Linked DNA regions of Homo sapiens: all the other regions are linked to region 3. The links are contacts of gene promoters, found by promoter capture Hi-C in blood cells and fetal thymus (Javierre and others, 2016). All regions are on one chromosome and are shown on one strand. Each heading gives the region's core, a stretch centred on a gene start or on the middle of the fragment in contact. The rest is flanking DNA. Distances are from core to core; before and after follow the strand shown.

Region 1 (3,801 bases), core at 179-2,678, 530 kb before region 3:
TCCACATAATTCTTTCATTTTATCTCAGATGTGGAAAATTGCCAAGTTTTAAAAAACATTAAGCGACAATACATTTCACAATGTGCAATGACTAAAATGTTGCTCTCTGAATGTTATCTGACTGTGGTTAATACAAGTCATAAGCAGTACAGTGTAATGACACTTGCCGATCCCACTGTTAAAGAATGTACGAGATAGTTGCTTCTATTTTACTTAAATCGAGAAGGAAAAGGTAAGACACCTTCCTAGGAAGAGAACAGCAGAATCTTAAAAAGAAAGTATAATACTTTTACCAATTCTAGTTTTCCTTTTTTCTCCTTGAAAATGTGGATTATTTTGACACAGCAACAAAAAGGCCAGAAAATAACAAGTGGCTGTAACGTGGATTGGTTTTGGCCAATGTGGAATAAAACGTCCTTCTTTTCTTATGTTTAAAACTCAAAGAGAATCAAGCCTCAGAACTTACGAGGCACAGGGTTGTTTAAAAACTGTTAACCTCTATTTTAAAACTTTTTTTTCTAGCTTCAAATGTTTAGTACATAAAACTTTTAAGCAAACATTTACTGTAACCAATTGTTAAAAATAACTGTGGACAATTATTATCTTTGAATACTATCATATCTAAAAGATAATAAGGAATCAAACATGCAAAGTACATTTAAAAAAATTCTTTTAATGCTATTTTGCTTTTCACCAGGTTTTAAATTCATAGTTCAGCATCCTACTTCCTTCCGTGCTTACTGAAGCAAAGTGGCTTCAAATTAAACTATGAAAAAGCAGACTTCATTCAGACATTCTGGGATTTTTATTTTCTCTCACCTATGTCAAAGTGAGAGGATGGAAGCTTAAATTTCAAACAAAAGCTTACTATCTGGAAGGAGTGTAGAAGGTGCACTCAAGCCAAAACATACAAAATCTTAGAATAACTTTCGTATGTTAAAGTACAAAGAAATCTTAGGGATCACCATATTAGCCAGAGATTTTCAGACTTCGTTGAAGGGGAGGAAGAGGCTGAAGAGGGGCCCCTCAGCCCAGTTACCCCTCCCTGCCCTCACTCCATCCAGAACCCTTCCAATTTTACCACTGTTGTAAGTTTGAGGTTTCACCTAACATTTCATTTTTTAAAATTTCACTGCTAGAAAATTTTTAAAAAGATTGACATCATCAATGAGAGAAGTTATACCATCTGCCTGATTTCACACAGCTAAGCTAGTAATCAAAAGTTTCAAACCCAGGTCTTTTGAGTCCCAGTCGGGTGCTGCTTCCCTAATATGTCACATCAGCTAGAGAAGAAACAGCAAATGCAGTGTTTATAGGGATAAGAACAAAACTCTGTTTCTTTCACAAATAAATGGGTTCTCTCTAAAACAGAAAAATGTTCTTTATATTGAATAAACTGCATTATGAAAACATTTATAAGATCCACTCTGTGCCAAGGGAATCGTAAAATAAAAATGCAAACTGGAGAAGATGAATGTGACCACCAAGAAAATCGTAACAAAGTAAAGGACTCCGGAAAAGGCTATGAGATAGTACATTACTTACAGGAGGCAGAGAGACCTGCCCGGTGATTTCAGGCGGGCGCATGCTCACCGAGTCTTCTCCGGGCCCTTCAGGCTCCCCAGATGGGTATGGTGGGGGTGGGTATGGAGGGTACTCCTCCAGGTACACATCAAGCACATGTGGAGCCTCTGGATTTGGTTCTTCTGGGTTATTCTGGAGATTTGGGCTGTTGTCTGGGACTCCCTCAGGCTCATAATCAAGGCCTGGAGAAGGAGCTGGCATGTCACTGTTCTCTGTACTGGCATTCCCCACATCCTCTGGGGACAATGATTCAGGAACCAGAGAGACCACCTCCTTTTCGGGCTCCACATGTAAATATGGATTCTGGATTTCTACTGGGCTTTCTGAGCTGGCAGTCACAGAAGCTGACTTGGATGGGTATGATGGGACAGAGATGGTCTCCATGGCCGCTATGGTGGTCCTCTGATATAAAAGCTTCTGAATATTTGGCCCATTAGGACCCTCTGGCTCTGTAATAGAACTACGTTTCTTTAGAGGCCTTGGTGCGTTAGACAGTTTCTTTCGTAAGGCTTCTAGGTCAGCATCACTCTGGTTTCGGTAAGGATTAGATAAGAAAGGCAGTAATTTAGTTGGGCTGAGTGGCCGAGGAATTCTTTCGTTTTCATGGTTCTCCTGAACTGAAGAAACAGGCTCTGTTTCAGGTTCTGGACTGCCAGGCTTGCCCTGGCTATTGGAATAAATGTTCTCTGGGTGCTGCTGTTGATTCTGGGCAGCAGCAATTACAGGCTTACCATATACTAATTGGAAAAGGAAAAAAAAAAGCCCTCATTAGCATTAATTAAACAAAACTGGCAAGAAACAGAAACAGCTAACAATAACTAAAGCCTCTTTTAATTTCATAGTTGTTACTACATAATCCCCTTCAAATATAATTAATTTTTAAAAATAAATGACAAAGCAGGGAATCCATCTTTGCATAATAAACTTATTACAGAATCAAAACCCCCACTGATTGTAACATGCACCATATCTCATGAAACAATAAGAAAATGTTGCCGTTTTAAGAAATCACTGTAGCATCCAAATTTAAAATAACAAAATGTGAAAAACATTTAGATGCAATGAAAACAGATAATCCTCATGTGTCCAGATTAAAACTAAACATGTACTATCCCATCTTTCACTTTTCAAAAGTGAATCAACGTGAGAACTTCTATTTGGCTTATAAAATTATTAAGAACCACTTATAGTTACCAAAGATATTCCCTGTTAACATTCTGATTATATTAAAATTATCTAATTCCCAAATTATTCCATTTTCACTAAAGACCCATGAAAAGAAGAGTAAGAGGTAGCATATATACTGATTCTTTGCTAATTTTAATTATGGCATCTTAGGTCACAATTACATGGTTATTTCATGACTACAAAGCTATTTTCATTCAATTAAAACATGGTAAGTTTTATTCTAGTCCTATGAAGTAATAATTTAGAAAGAACCCAACAAATTTCCAAACTGTGTATGTTTAATACAAGCTAACCTTCTGTTTTTACATTTAGCTAGCGGCTATGTCCCCATTACAATGACTTAAAATACAGTAGAGAATATATATATATATGTACGTATGTATGTTTTTTTTTTTAGATGGAGTTTCACTCTTGTTGCCCAGGCTGGAGTGCACCATCTCGGCTCACTGCAACCTCCGCCTCCCAGGTTCAAGCAATTCTCCTGCCTCAGTCTCCTGAGTAGCTGGGATTACAGGCATGTACCACCACGTCCAGCTAATTTTGTATTTTGGTAGAGGTGGGGCTTCTCCATGTTGGTCAGGCTGGTCTCGAACTCCCAACCTCAGGTGACCCGCCCACCTTGGCCTCCCAAAGTGCTGGGATTACAGGCGTGAGCCACTGCGCCCAGCCACAGTTATATATAAAGACATATAGACACAGACACACACATACAGAGACACACATATATATATGTGTGTGATGTGTGTGTGTGTATATATATCTATATATACATGTCTACGTATATATGTCTCTCTATATGTATATACACACACACACACAGACAGGGGCAGTGGTCCAGTCCTCTATATGACAAGAACATCTGGTCAACCTACAGTGAAGACACACACCTTCCTTCTGCACTGTAATGACCCATTATATTTGGTTCTCCCTCACCGATAAGCCCCTCCAGACTTGAGACCACACTTTATTCATCTATTATCTTTAGTGCCTACTACTGTAGGAGCAGACATTTAGCAAGCACTCTTTTAA
Region 2 (3,791 bases), core at 718-3,217, 520 kb before region 3:
CGGCTCACTGCAACCGCCAACTCCCTGATTCAAGCGATTCTCCCGCCTCAGCCTCCCGAGTAGCTGGGATCACAGGCACATGCCACCATGCCCAGCTAATTTTTGTATTTTTAGTAGAGACAGGGTTTCACCATGTTGGCCAGGATGGTCTGTCTCGATCTCCTGACTTCGTGATCCTCCCGCCTCGTCCTCCCAAAGTGCTGGGATTACAGGCGTGAGCCACCATACCCGGCCTAATTTTTGTATTTTTAGTAGAGACAGAGTTTCGTCATGTTGGCCAGGCTGGTCTCAAACTCCTGATCTAAGGTGATCTACCCACCTCAGCCTCCCAAAGTGCTGGGATTACAGGCATGAGCCACCGCGCTCAGCCAAAACTGAGCTTTTGTAATGTCCAATAACCCTGCTCGTTCTCCCACATCCTACAAGACTGCTGGGTCACAGGGATGGCTGTGTCCCCAGTGTCTACTGCTGCTTCCCACCCACACTCTCTCTCCACCCTCCCCCTACAGTCATCTATAAACTCTGGTCACAATCCCTGGTCACTAACGATGTGACCAACTGACTCCCTTGTTCTCTCCACCTCCAAGTCCTGCCTTCATTCTGGATGACATTACCGCCCAAATGCTAGCCTCTCAGTTCTAGCTTTCTCGTCTCCACTCTAATTCAGCCTCATTTCAGGGCCCCACCTGGGACCACAACACTAGAAGCCCTCTACCTCCGAAATTTTCAATTCAAACCTTCTGTTTTTTGACCACTATTTCCTTTCAATCTCAGGCGTCTCACTCATTTCCTCTCACACCTGTTCTTTCATCTAACTGAGACTCACAGCCTCTTAACTCTGTCTACTCTTTCCCCACAGCCCCTCCTGTCTTCACTTCTTCCCCACCCAGCTAAGGTATCACCTTGCCAATACCCTCTTCTCCCCTGTCCCACTGAACTCCCATTGAATTTGTCTAGAAACCTTGGGTTTTCTAGACAATTGCCTAGAAAAATTTGTCTAGACACCTTTGTTTTCTTCTCTTCTTACAACCCACCTGGGCTGTAGACCACCACTGGAGAAAAATCATGTATGGTCTCATGGTCTCTAATCTCAACTGGCCTCAATGGTTCCCAGCAGTCTGGCTTCCCTAGTAAGCCCTCTCTCCTAATCTCCAAAACAGCTCCAGCTTCCCACCCACCTCCATCATCACTCCTACCTCAGAGAAAACAAATGTTTTTAGATGAGAAATCCCTCAACTTACTCCCACAAAATGCACAAATTTAGCCACATCTGCCACAGTTTTATTTCTGTCCTGTTATTATGGAAGAGGGATCCTTCCTCTTGTCTAAGAGGACTTTCTGCCTCAGGGCTGTGGAAGGACCTAATCAGGGACCCTGCCTAACAAGTATTTCCTTTCTTATAGTTTCAACCCCCTGCTCTAATGACTCCTTCCCACCTGCATTAAACAACTATAGTCAAACTTCTCCCCTCGACAGCCTATCTCCACTGTTTCCACTTCCTAACCTCTCCTTCACCTCTCAAATTACCTGGCTTCTCATCATGTGCCACCTACTACTCCCAGCACAAAATAAAAGCTTAAATATCTGTCACGATTCACAGAGCACTACCTACCAATGTCCCTGCCAGGGGGGCGTTCATGACGAAGGAAGAAGCGAACTTCGTTCCTCTGACTTCCAAATCGTTGAAGAACATCAAACATTCGCTCATTATCCGCAACTGGACGTTCTAAAGCAAATGAGTAGAAACCACATTATTTTCAGGTAAAAGAAAGATAAATATATCATTCACCATCTATCCTTCATGCAAATTATACATTATGGATACAACAAATGCTTAGTATCTCAGGTAAATTTTTTTCATTAAAACACGTCTTAGAAACTGAAGTCACACAGATTTTCCACACACACAGAGTCAAGCCAGGGTGGAATACTACAAAAGGCAATGCATCTCAGCCAGCTGTCAGGAGCTCAGCAGTCTAAATCCAGTGGGCTCCACGCTGGCCACAGGTGCACCATTTAACTTCTGTGGTTCCAAAAGTTTCTGTAAAATCTATATTAGATCACATAGTCCCTTCTAACACTAATATTCATGATTCTCCGAATATACAAAGAAAATATTAAAAAGCAACTTTCTAAATAGCCTAGTCTTTTTTTTTTAATTGTAGTTTTCAATACAGGCTATTTTTAAATTATAATTTTACAAACAATATTTAAAAAAATCAGACCCATCCATTTCCAAATAAAAGTCTATTTACTGCTGTAAAATGTATCTATATTTGCCCCTCTTCCAGTGAGAATACCAGTGTCAGAATTTTTCTGGAAACAAAAAGAAGGGCACACCTAAATACCTAGTAAAAATAGAAGCTTCAGGAGAAACAATATATCTCAAGCTGTCCTAAAAAAATCTTCCAATCTCAAGGGATCTGGATATAAAAACGAGACACACTGTTTGAGGAGGCAATTGCTTAAAATCAATGAAACTCCAGTAATGTCAACATGATTTTTAAATATAAGAATGTTGAAATACCCTAAGAAAACTCAACACATTTATCAGTAATCAAGGACACTATCTTAACACCTTAAATAAACATGGGCAGAGAACAGAGCAGGCAAGCATTCACCAGCCAATTTGGTGAACCAACCCTGAACTTAATCTGCTTGGCTGCAACAAAATGCAGTTCTGGTTCTACTTCCAGTAACATAACATACTGAGTTGACATAGATAATCCCCTTTTATAAACCACACATATTCTAAGACCTCCCCCAAAAAGGATACACCACAGTTAGAGAGAAACACCTCCAAAAGAAATTCTGAGTAGCCCTTCCACCCACCCCTACAAAATACACACACACATGCTGTACTCAAAACAAGTAAAATCTCCAGGTTCCAGGAGCAAAGAGAGAACTCAAAGGAAGTAAAGTAGCTTGCTGTCCACGCTGGACTGCCCCAGAAAGATATGGACTTCTCACAAGCTCTAGGCTAACATCCCGATGGCCCTGTGATGGCAAAAGATCAGGCATAGGCCTGCATAAGCTGAAACAGACACTTAAAGGCTCTCAAAGCTCCCTACTAACACTCATGTGCCAGCCACACCTACGGTCATGCACTGCATGTTGACAGTGGTCCCATAAGATTTTAAGGCCATATTTTTACTGTACCTTTTCCTATGTTTAGATACACAAATATGTACCACTGTGTTACAACTGCCTACAGTATTCAATACAGTAACATGCTGTACAGGTTTGTAGCCTAGGAGCAAAAGGCTGTATACCATATAGCCTAGGTGTGTAGTAGGCTATACCATCTAGATTTGTGTAAGTACGCTCTATGATGTTCACACAACAAAATCACCTAATGACAAATTTCTCGGCACGTATCACCATTATTGACACATGACTGTATCTCCTTGACAGGGCATTCCTGCCTATGTGACTCTGAACATGCCATTCCTATCATTCATCATCTCCCCCAGCACCCTTTTCTCCTGCAGATGAAATACATCTATTACTGCAACTATCACATTGTATTATAAATGTCTGTGGATACTTGTTTCTCTTTGTGCCCTGTAAGATACCTGAAGGCAACTTTCATCTCTGTATCCCTCTCAATCAAGTGCAGTCCCTAGCACATAACAGGCATCCGAGAAATATTCACTAAGCAAATACACGAGTGGGTAGTGAGGAAATGCAAAAGGAAACAAGACAGGAGAGGAGAAGAAAGGCTAAACACTTAGAGAATTAAATAATAGGGGAACACATTTACACCTCTGGAATAAGAATTTTTTTTTTAA
Region 3 (3,855 bases), core at 838-3,337:
GTTATACTTTAAGTTCTGGGATACATGTGCAGAACATGCGGGTTTGTTACATAGGTATACAGGTGCCATGGTGGTTTCCTGCACCCATCAACCCGTCATCTACATTAGGTATTTTTCCTAATGCTATCCCTCCCCTAGCCCGATTTTTCCCTTTAAAAGGATGTCTTGGCCACGCCTGTAATCCCAGCACTTTGGGAGGCTGAGGCGGGCAGATCACCTGAGGTCAGGAGTTCGAGACTAGCCTGGCCAACATGGTGAAATCCCATCCCTACTAAAAATACAAAAAGTAGCCAGGCGTGATGGCATGCACTTGTAATCCCACGTACTCGGGAGGCTGAGGCAGGAGAATCACTTGAACCCAGGAGGCAGAGGTTGCAGTGAGCAGAAAAAAAAAAAAAAATTAGATGTCTCTGGCTGCTCTGTGGGGAATAGGCTTTAGGTAAAAGCAGAATCAGAGAGATCAGTTAGGAGGCTATTGTAATAGTATAAGGTAGAGATGATGGTTTGGACTAAGATGGTTACAGGGAAAGACAGTAAGAAGTACTTGGAATATATTTTGAAAGTAAAGCCAACCAGGCTGTTGACAGATGGTATACAGGAAATGAAAGACTCAGAATGATCCTTAAGGTTTTTGGCCTTAACAACAGGACGAACGGTAGTATCATTTACTGAGATACAGAACACTAAGAAAGGGCAGATTTGAAGGAAGAAAAAAATCACAAATTCCACTTGGCCATTTTAATTTGGAGATATGCTGACTAGGCAGCTGGATATATCAATCTGTACTTCAAGATAAAATCTGGACTGGAGATATAAAGTTAGCAGTCATAAATATACAGAGGCCAGTGCAGCAGCTTGCACCGGTAATCCCAGCACTTTGGGAGGCTGAGGCCCGATCGCTTGAGCCCAGGAGTTAGAGACCAGCCAGAGTAACATAGTGGAACCCCGTCTCTACAAATAATAATAATAATAATAAATTAGCCAGGTGTGGTGGTGCACACCTGTAGTCCCAGCTACTGGGGAGGCTGAGGAGGGAGGATCACTTGAGTCAGGGAGGCCGAGGGTGCAGTGAGTTATGATTGTGCCCATAAACAGCCACTGCACTCTAGCCTGGGCAACAGAGCGAGACTATGTCTCAGAAAAATAAAAATAAAATGAAATAAATACATAGATAATAGAGTATGTAGATACTACTCAAAGGTTATTACACTAAATGAGATCACATAGGAAGTATGGATAGATAAGAAAGGTGTATGAGGAAAGAGGAGGAAGGGGAGGTAAGAGAACAGTGGCACAGAGCACTTCCAACATTTACAAGTTGGTAGGAAAAGATGGGTCCGAAAAGGAGATTGTTTAGGGGCTGGTGAAGTGAAAGAAAAACAAGGAGAATGTGTAGCTCACAAATTCCTAAGTGAAGAAAATTCTCTCCCACCTTTTAACTCAGACTGCTTGCTTACATTCTGAGGTATTTGCCACACACTGCTTTTTACTGATGGTCATGAAAATGAGAAAACCGTAGGCAAAGTGCCTGTTACTGTTGCCAGACCCATGTTATCTCGTTTTAGTGTGTAAGTTCCTTGAGAACGGAAATTAACATATTATTTATGCCACCCCTTCTCAAGGACCTCTTACAATGCGAGCGTTTGAAGACCATTCCTGTGCTAACTTCACAAGCCAAAGAGGTTAAAATTCAAAGGCTACCTCCACTCTACTGAATGATCTGCGCTGAAGACGACCAGACAACTTGGGCAGCCCTACCAAGCTGCACCCTCCCACCATCCCCGGCTTCTCCCTGAGACTCCGCACCAACGTGGGTAGGGAAGGCCCCGGCAGCACCAACTAAGGAGAAACAGACGCACGCCCAGACCCAGACTGGGGAAAGAAGACTAGTTGAGTTCCACCTGGATGCCACCCGACAAAAGGGGAGTGGCACCCTGGGGCAGCGATCGGGGCCCTTGGCGAGGCCAAGCGGTGCAGAATACACACCTGGATGACTCGCTGCTTGAGTTTATTATCCACGAACCCTGCAGGTCTGGGCTTCATCGCGTCGGTCTTCCAAGCCACAGCTCGGACCGCCAGCTCCTAGTCAACCGGGGGCCTCGTAGGGGTTGCCCGCCGCGATCGCCGGGCCAGTTGCACCTGAAATGCGCCCCTCCTGGGGCCTAGCCCGCGCCGTTTCCGTCAGAATAAAAGTAATGCGAATGAAGGGGAAAAAATTCCGAGGAGAGGGAGAAGACTTGAAAACCTCAGGGAGTTTCTAGGGGCCTTATTTTGCAGGCCTGCCCAGTGGACCCTGGAAGATTAGGACCCCTTTGAACGCGCTCAACTTTATTGGTTCCCCGCCGGGCGAACCAGGTGGGAGGAAGTTCCTACCCCGGCGCGGTGTGCGGAGACGCTGTCAACGGCGTCCTCTGGAAAACTTGGTTTGCTTTCCTCAGGCGTTCCAGCCACACCTCATTCTGATACAAAGCTAGTCTTCGCAAAACCAGCCACGGTAGATACTTGGAGTGATAAAATCAGGGTAAAAACACACCACCAGCCGCTGCTTGCTTTCCCACGTAGTTATCTTACATTTTAGAGGCCCGACAAAAGGGCTAGGTGAAAAAGAAAAGGAAGGACGGATTTATCCAGATAACTAAGTCATTTGTTACTTTTAGAACTCGTTTGACTTACGCTGTTATCATCGGCAGGTAATTTGTTGAATATATCCAGTGCAGGACTCCTTGGCCCAGAATTTTATCAAACGTTTGTATTTGCCCCAAGAAGTTTATCCTGCACTTAGGGAGACACAAAGGGACAGTTACCAAGCATTAAAAAAAAAATGCTGGCTTTAGTTTCTGTCTTCTTGTTTATTTCAACCGTGTTTTGAGTATTCTTATTTCAGGTCCTCCTTGGCTTATGACAAGGTTAAGTGCAGTGTATTAAGGGGCAGAGGGGAGAGAAAATGGAATTAAGAGAAGGGCGTGAGGCCGGGCACGGTGGCTCACACCTGTAATCCCAGCACTTTGGGAGGCCGAGGCGGGCAGATCACTTGAGGTCAGGAGTTCACGACCAGCCTGGCCAACATGGTGAAACCTTGTCTCTACTAAAAATATAAAAATTAGCACTGAATTAAGTATTAGATTTCCCACTCAAAATATTGATCCGTTTGGTTGCAACTTCATTTCCTACTTCTTCACTATGTGTAGTTTTATTTTTTATTTTTTTAGTTGTAAAATATAAGAACATTCACCATCTTAAACATTTTAAAGTGTGCAGTTTAGTGATAATACATTCATAATATGCAACCATCACTGCCATCTAGTTCCAGAACTCTTTTCATCTTGTACAACTAAAACTCTATACTAATTAAAAAATAACTCCCCATTCCTCCCTCCCCCCAGCCCCTGGCAACTACCATTCTACTTACTGTCTTTATGATTTTGACTACACTAACTTCCTCATATAAGTGGAATCTTCCAGTATTTGACTTTTGTGACTGGCTTGTTTCTTAGCTTAATGCCCTCATATAGCATGTGTTAGAATTTCCTTCTTTCTTTTCTTTTTTTTTTTTTTTTTTTTTTGATACAGAGTCTTGCTCTGTTGCCCAGGCTGGAGTGCAGTGGCGCAATCTCAGCTCACTGCAACCTTCGCCTCCTGGGTTCAAGAGATTCTACCACCTCAGCCTCCCAAGTAGTTGGGACTACAGGTGTGTACCACCACACCCGGCTAATTTTTTGTATTTTTAGTAGAAATGGCGTTTTGCCATGTTGGCCAGGCTGATCTCCAACTCCTGACCTGAGGTGATCCACCTGCCTTGGCCTCCCAAAGTGCTGGGATTACAGGTATAAGCCACCGCACCTGGCCTTTCCTTCA

What was found. The method cuts DNA at HindIII sites, captures the fragments that hold promoters and counts their contacts. A CHiCAGO score of 5 or more calls a contact.
Region 1: a contact is called between a fragment that was not itself captured here and the fragment with the promoter of NVL in region 3, in 7 of 17 cell types (naive B cells, total B cells, total CD4 T cells and 4 more). The highest score is 9.5, in naive B cells.
Region 2: a fragment that was not itself captured here is called in contact with the fragment with the promoter of NVL in region 3 in 7 of 17 cell types (total B cells, naive B cells, naive CD8 T cells and 4 more); the score reaches 12.4 in total B cells.

Annotation. Positions count from the first base shown.
Region 1 is chr1:223,794,270-223,798,070 of GRCh38, forward strand. TP53BP2 (tumor protein p53 binding protein 2) reads right to left here. Exons shown (of 18, transcript NM_001031685.3): 13 at 1,546-2,321. Among named protein-coding and RNA genes, the nearest start is that of TP53BP2, 50 kb to the right of the region's middle. The HindIII fragment of the contact is 1,135 bases long and covers 862-1,996 here.
Region 2 is chr1:223,812,628-223,816,418 of GRCh38, forward strand. It overlaps TP53BP2 (tumor protein p53 binding protein 2), which reads right to left. Exons shown (of 18, transcript NM_001031685.3): 3 at 1,613-1,726. Among named protein-coding and RNA genes, the nearest start is that of TP53BP2, 31 kb to the right of the region's middle. The HindIII fragment of the contact is 789 bases long and covers 1,574-2,362 here.
Region 3 is chr1:224,328,085-224,331,939 of GRCh38, forward strand. It overlaps NVL (nuclear VCP like), which reads right to left and starts at 2,088. Exons shown (of 23, transcript NM_002533.4): 1 at 1,987-2,088. The coding sequence starts at 2,043. RefSeq lists enhancers at 1,656-1,795, 1,846-1,895, 2,086-2,135, 2,156-2,305. The HindIII fragment of the contact is 14,633 bases long and covers 1-3,855 here.